Regions from separate parts of the Homo sapiens genome. Here region 1 is linked to region 2. The links are contacts of gene promoters, found by promoter capture Hi-C in human tissues and cell types (Jung and others, 2019). All regions are on one chromosome and are shown on one strand. The core of a region is centred on a gene start or on the middle of the fragment in contact, and the rest is flanking DNA. Distances in the headings are between cores, read along the strand shown. Region 1 overlaps LOC105371024 (a long non-coding RNA gene). Region 2 holds the start of ALDH1A3 (aldehyde dehydrogenase 1 family member A3).

Region 1 (2,996 bases), core at 455-2,954, 120 kb after region 2:
GTACAAGTACCTCATCCTGCAGGGTTTAGAGGGCCTGGAGGTCAGACTGGCTGAGCACAGGGCTCTGGGCGTTGGCAGTGTGTCTCACATACATTGAGGCTGATACTGTTGGTGGAACTGCAGAGCTGTAGATCCAGAGGCTGCAAAAGGGAATGAGGTTCTCTCAGCCAGCAGGCCCCTAATTACAGGCTGCAGGTGAGTGGAAGAGCTTCATGCTGTGAACAGGCTCCAGAAAGCTTCATTCTTTATACTGGCCAAGGGGAGAAGGAGGAAAAGGAGGCCGGCCCGGGGATGCTAGATTAGACAAGCCTGTGAGGTTCTAATAATATAAACACAAATCAAACCGTCTTAAGCAAAAAGAAACATTGATGAATGTAATTAAAATGTTTAAGGTGTAGCTTCAGGTATAGCTGGATCCAGATGCTCTAACAGTGTCACCAGGAAGCTGTCTGTCATCCTCTAGCTCAGCTTTCTTTGGCTTTTGGCTTCACTCTCAGGCAGCTCCTTCCAAGGAGCAGCCCTTGACCAGCTCCTGGGCTACATCAGCGGCTGCAAACAAGCCCAGAGGCTGCTGCTTACCGAGTGAACTAGGCCGCGTGTTTGTCTCCAAACTAATCACATCAGTCGGGCTGGACTGTGCTGAGTATTTCAGCCTCACTCACATCCTTCTCCTGAGTGGAGGCATCCACGCAAGGCTGCAGAACCACGCGATAGAATACAATCGTGATGGGGTTGACACCCCAAGGAAATGAGGCAGCTGATACCAGGAAAGAGGAATGAACACAGGGCTGGGTCCACCTTGCCCAGGTCACTTCGGCACCCCATCCCTCCATTTCCTCATCAGCAAGAAAAGAGGGGCCGTAAGGCCCACCTCCCCAGGTGGGCTCCACGTCTAAGCCCCCATGGCCCCATGGGTCAAGTGTGAGTTGTAAGGAACTGGGGGTGAAGGGAAGGCCCGAGCCAGGCCTCCACACCGGCCACTTCTCACTTCAAGTTCAGTGAGTGAGATGAAAAACACCACAAAATGAAGACAAAGGCTCTATTGCCTGCCCCTGGCTTCTCCTCACACTTTGTGCTGCCTGGGCCCCACTGGCCTACTGTCAGCTCCTCTTCCTGCCCAGGGGACTTCAGCCAGACTTCTTCCCCTGCCGGGAGGCCTGTTCACCCCTCTAGCACCCACTGCCTGCCTGGATGCAACCTCTTGAAGGCATATGAGAGGTGGCCTTTTCACATCTGTCCCGTTGCCGGGGAAGCCGGGATGGTCATCTGCTCCTCAGGTCCCTTGGGAGGAAGGCACGAGGGAGCTGCTGCTGACTAAAGCTGGAGGAGCCGTTCCCCCACCCCACAGGCTCCCTTGTCAGTCATTCCTCTTTGCCTGTAGCTCTTCCTCCCTTCCAGCCAGACTCAAGGCTGGGGCTGACTGTCTCAGGGAAGGGAGACCCGGAAGAGCCCAGTGAGGCCTGCAGGGGAAGCCTCGACCCATGGAGTCCAATCCTGCTCTCAGAAGCACACACAAGGATGATAGCTTTGAGAGGACAAAGGCATCTGGCACTTCCTGCAGAAGAGGAGGGAAGAGTGTGGGATAGGATGACAGGGGGGTTCCTGCTGACTGAGAGGCCCCAGGATCAGGCCCTGCACTGTGGGATGACTCACCCCACTTTCCAGGGGTCAGAGATACCTCATGGTAGGTTGAGGGATGCCAAGGCAGAGGAACTTGGACCCCCTTTTTCCTCTGAGACTCTGTGGCCTGGCTGGTGGCCATCTGGAGAGACACGGTCTGGAGGAGACTGGGACAGAGGTGGGGTGGCACTTGTCCTCTGCAGAGCTGAAATGGCCTGGGGGGCACTCACAGCTTTCTGGGGCTCCTAGGAGCGAGGTGGAGATGGCTAAGAGTTGGCAGTAGAGGACATGGAGTGGGGGCCCCATTCAGTGAGGATGTGCAGAGGTTTGAAGGCTGGCCTGCCACCTAGATGGCCCCTGTCCCATGCCAGGGTGGCATGGAAGCTCCCTGTCAGCACTGGACTTCCCCAGGGATAAAGGGCAAGGAGAGGGGGGGAAGAGACTCCGGAACTCATCTGATGGGTCAACACTCACAGGTCAGGAAGTGTCAAGCGCTGGGCCTCCATTCGGTGCTGCTGATGTGTGTGTCTGCCCTCTGCCAGCACCACGCTTGGTTTCTATAGCTCTGTAGTAAGTCTCAGTACCGGGTATGTGGTTTCTCCTACTTCATTCTCCTCTGTCAGAGATTGTTATCTCGGGCCTTTCCTTTTTCATATATATTATAGAATAAGCTTGTCTGTATCTGTAAAAACCTTGCTGAGATTTTGATAGGAATGGTGTTAAAACTGCCGTCAGTTTGGGTAGAAGAGACATCTGTCGTGCTGAGCCTTCGAATCCATGAACCCTGACGTGTCTCCATGCGTTAGGTCTTCCTTGATTTCTTTCATCAGTGGCTTGTAATTTTCATCACACAGACTCTTATTTTTTAAACTCATAAAAAGATTCACCTAGAGCTTTCCAGGTTCACTGTAGCATCCTCTTTGTCTTTGTTCTTGCCGTCTTGCTGAAGGCAGTACTCCATCCCACTAAGGACACCTCGTTGAGCTCCAGGTCCATGTAATCCACGCCAAGTTGTGACTATGCGCAAACTTATCCACCTCCGGGGGTGGGGAACACATCCTGCTGAGGCAGCCCCTCCTCCGACTGTGCCCGCCAGAAAGTTCTTGCATGGAGTACATTTCTGCACCCAGGCGCCCTGGCTCTACCCCAGGGCCACCCACCCACAGTTCGAATCCCTGACTTTCTCTGCTTTGCAAACCTTTTGTCTCTTCTCTAAGCCTCAACTCAGAGCACTCCGCTGGGTATTTCTCAAAATTCGCCTCCCTGCGCTGACTGGTCCTCATCTTCTTTCAGCTCCTGACACTGTCAATCTGTTTCTGAAACACACATGAAACACACACTCTCTCTCTCTCTCTCCTCTTCTTCCTTTGTCTCAT
Region 2 (2,887 bases), core at 281-2,780:
CCATTTTCACTCTTCCCAGAATTCGTGTTGGAATTTTCACTCTGAAGCTGATATTACAAATAAAACTACATTAAGAATAATTTCCAGCGTTTAGTTTACAGCGACGTGTCTTTGTTGATTACAGAGCCTTCTGAAAACAGTTAATTTAAATGTCTTGTGATCAGAGGCTCAGCCGACATTGGGAATTAAGTGCCAAGAGACCCAAATCTGAAGGCCACACATAGTGCCCTGCAACTTTCTCCGCTTGATTAAAATTCTTTGAGAAAGATAATTGCTACTTCTTAAAGTAAAACGGATGAGGAAATTCTCTAAGTGCGGTGTCAGCTGGAGTTGGGGGCTATGGGTAAAAGCAAAAATCAAGAGAAGCCAAAGGTGGGGAAAGTTAAGGCAATGGCTCTCGGCCTGGCCTGTGCCTCTAAAGTGCCCCAGCACCGGCCCACGACAGACGCGCACGCCAGACAGCCTGGGGGTGTCCTCCATCGGGTCGCGCTCCCGGACCCGGGTCTCTCGGCCCTCCTCAGCCCCAGCTCAGAGGCCTCGGAGGCCTCACCATCTTCTTTTATTCCTTTCTGCCCCGGGCAGGTAATCTCGCCGTTCTGCCAACGCTGTAGCCTCCCAGCCCACAGAGCGAGGAGGCAGAGAACCGTGCGCTTCTGCGGCCTCGCGACCCACCGCTTCCCAAAGGCCCAGGTCTGCGACCTTCCGGAGCGCGCGCCTTGTGTGTAAACACCGGGACCTCTGGGCTCCGGGGAGGTTTCGTCAGTAAGCGAGCACCTTCCTACTCCTCCTCGTTCTGCTGCTGAGCCGGGTATAAACTAAGCACGGAAGGCGCCCGCTGCGCTTTGCTCGGAGGACCCGCTTCCCCAGTCTTCCAACTGCAGCTCCGCCATCTGCCTCCCGGACTCTCTCTTGGCGCTCTCGGACCCTCCGACCCTCTCAAAGCCAGACTCGTCCACCCTGGAAATCATCGCAGGGGTTTTTGGGGAGGGAGCTCCCCAAAACCAGCGCGCTCCGAGTCAACGCGGCGCGCACCTCCACTCGCGATCAAAGCGGGCAGCGCAGGGACACGTCGGGGCCTCGCAGGGATGCGGGCGGCCCGGCCCCGCGCGGGCGCTGGACGGCCTCGGTTTCCCGGCTTCGAGGCTCACAGCGCCGAGCCCCGCCGCCTGCGATCCCGCCCGAGACGTCCCGCGAAAGGTGCGGTTTCTGGAGAGCCGCGCCCGGGCAGGGAGGCTCGGGTCTCGGCGGCGCCCGGCGGACCCCCGGCCCGCTGCTCCCTCGCCCCCGCCGCCCCGAGTCTGGCTGCCCAGCGCAGGGGCCCGCGGCCGTCGGGTGGGAGGGGCGCCCGCCTCACCTTGGTGAACTTGACCTCCAGGTTGCGGATGGGGCGCGGCAGGGCCGGCGGCTTCCTGTCCGGCTGCCCGTTTTCCACGGCCCCGTTAGCGGTGGCCATGGCTCCTCCGCGCTCCCTGGCCCGAGGCGCCCTAGTCTGCGGCGCACCGGCTCGGCCCGGACACTGCGCAGCCCGCTCCCGGGGTGGCAGCTCCCCGCCGCTTTATGCAGCGCCCCACGCCTCCCGCCCGAGGGGGCCGCCTAATTGGCTGCGGGACCGGAGGAAGGGAGGGCGGGCTGCGGGAGGGAGGAGAGGGGAGGGCGGCCGGCCCGCCTCACCCCGCCCCGCCCGCCGCCCCTGCGGGAGCCCGAGCGCCGGCGGCTCCACCCGCGTGCCGCGGACCGTCCCGGCGCCCGCGCCGCGCGCTCTCTCGCCCCGGAGGCTGCCTGTGGACGAGCTCCCCGAGGAGCCGCCGGGCCCCGGAAGTCGCAGGGCTGGGACACCCGACCCGGCAGGGAGCTGAGCCGCGGGGCCACGGCGCCCCGCTGCCTCCCCGAAGTCGGGCGGGCTCCCCGCGCGGCACATGCAGCCCACTCCCAGCCGCCGCACGGCGCGCTCGCCCGACTTCGGCCGGCTCGCGGCGCTCGGGAATGCGCGCTCTCCGCCGGGCCCTGCGCCGCGCCCGGGTCGGGGCTCCTGGCGGGGCCGCCCCGCGTCGCTGCGCACGTGCCCTGCTCTTGGGTCCAGCCGCCCGATCCCCGCTAGCAGGACAGACGCCCGCTGCGCCCCACCCTGCCCGAGCGCGGACAGCCGGCGGGCGCACCCCGGCCCAGCCGGCCTGGAGTCTCCCCGGGGCCCTGGGGCTTCGCCCGCGGTGGGGCAGAAGGCGAAAGCAAAGCGCCGGACCCGGGCGGCTCTCCGCCGAGGAGCCCTGGCGCCGCTGGGCCTCTGACCTTCGCAGGCGCACACCGCCTTCCATCCCAGAGCCCGGGGGGCAATTGATCTGATTTTTTAAATGCATAAATTATACCTCGATTAAAAAATGATAATTAAAAAAAAGCACATGAGACCTTTGCTGCTAATCGTTTTAAGAGTTTAAATTCTTGTCGCGCATTACTTCCCAGGAGGGGGAGGTAAGTCTAGCTCCTCTCCTTTTGCGATTTGGGAAACGCTCCATCAACTCCCAGGACTTGACCCAGGCCCCATCTGAGACACGGAAGCGGCTTCTGATGCATGCCATTCCTCAGGTCGCTGGAACAAAGACCGGAGGCACGGACTCCTGACAAAAGCTGTGCTTTAATCCTCAGATAGGCTCAGCCCCTTCAGTTCATCTCTTTCTGTAGGTAACCCCAAGTAATCAACAATGGGGAGGGGTCTCCTTATTTTCCTGTTTTGAGGCCTCCGTGTCCATCTCTCTGTCCCCTGGTGTCCTTCTGGATAGAGCTGGATAGAGGGGTAAGTTTTGAAGCTTTTGGAAACCCCACATCTGACCCTTACCCTGGGGTTGTGGAAAGGTCTTGTGCTGTTATGGCCTGGAGTGCACAGCTGAGGCCG

What was found. Contacts are between HindIII fragments. The study calls those that stand out against the background at their distance.
Region 1: a contact is called between a fragment that was not itself captured here and the fragment with the promoter of ALDH1A3 in region 2, in 4 of the 25 tissues and cell types used here (IMR-90 fibroblasts, bladder, lymphoblastoid cells and 1 more).

The regions. Positions count from the first base shown.
Region 1 is chr15:100,762,206-100,765,201 of GRCh38, reverse strand. All of the region lies in intron 2 of LOC105371024 (a long non-coding RNA gene), which reads right to left. Among named protein-coding and RNA genes, the nearest start is that of GCAWKR, 86 kb to the left of the region's middle. RefSeq lists an enhancer at 1-380. The HindIII fragment of the contact is 4,110 bases long and covers 1-2,996 here.
Region 2 is chr15:100,878,474-100,881,360 of GRCh38, reverse strand. It overlaps ALDH1A3 (aldehyde dehydrogenase 1 family member A3), which reads right to left and starts at 1,530. Exons shown (of 13, transcript NM_000693.4): 1 at 1,355-1,530. The coding sequence starts at 1,453. It overlaps LOC124903575 (collagen alpha-1(I) chain-like), which reads left to right and starts at 1,558. Exons shown (of 1, transcript XM_047433433.1): 1 at 1,558-2,415. The coding sequence starts at 1,558. The coding sequence ends at 2,340. RefSeq lists an enhancer at 484-998 and a silencer at 1,490-1,609. The HindIII fragment of the contact is 10,500 bases long and covers 346-2,887 here.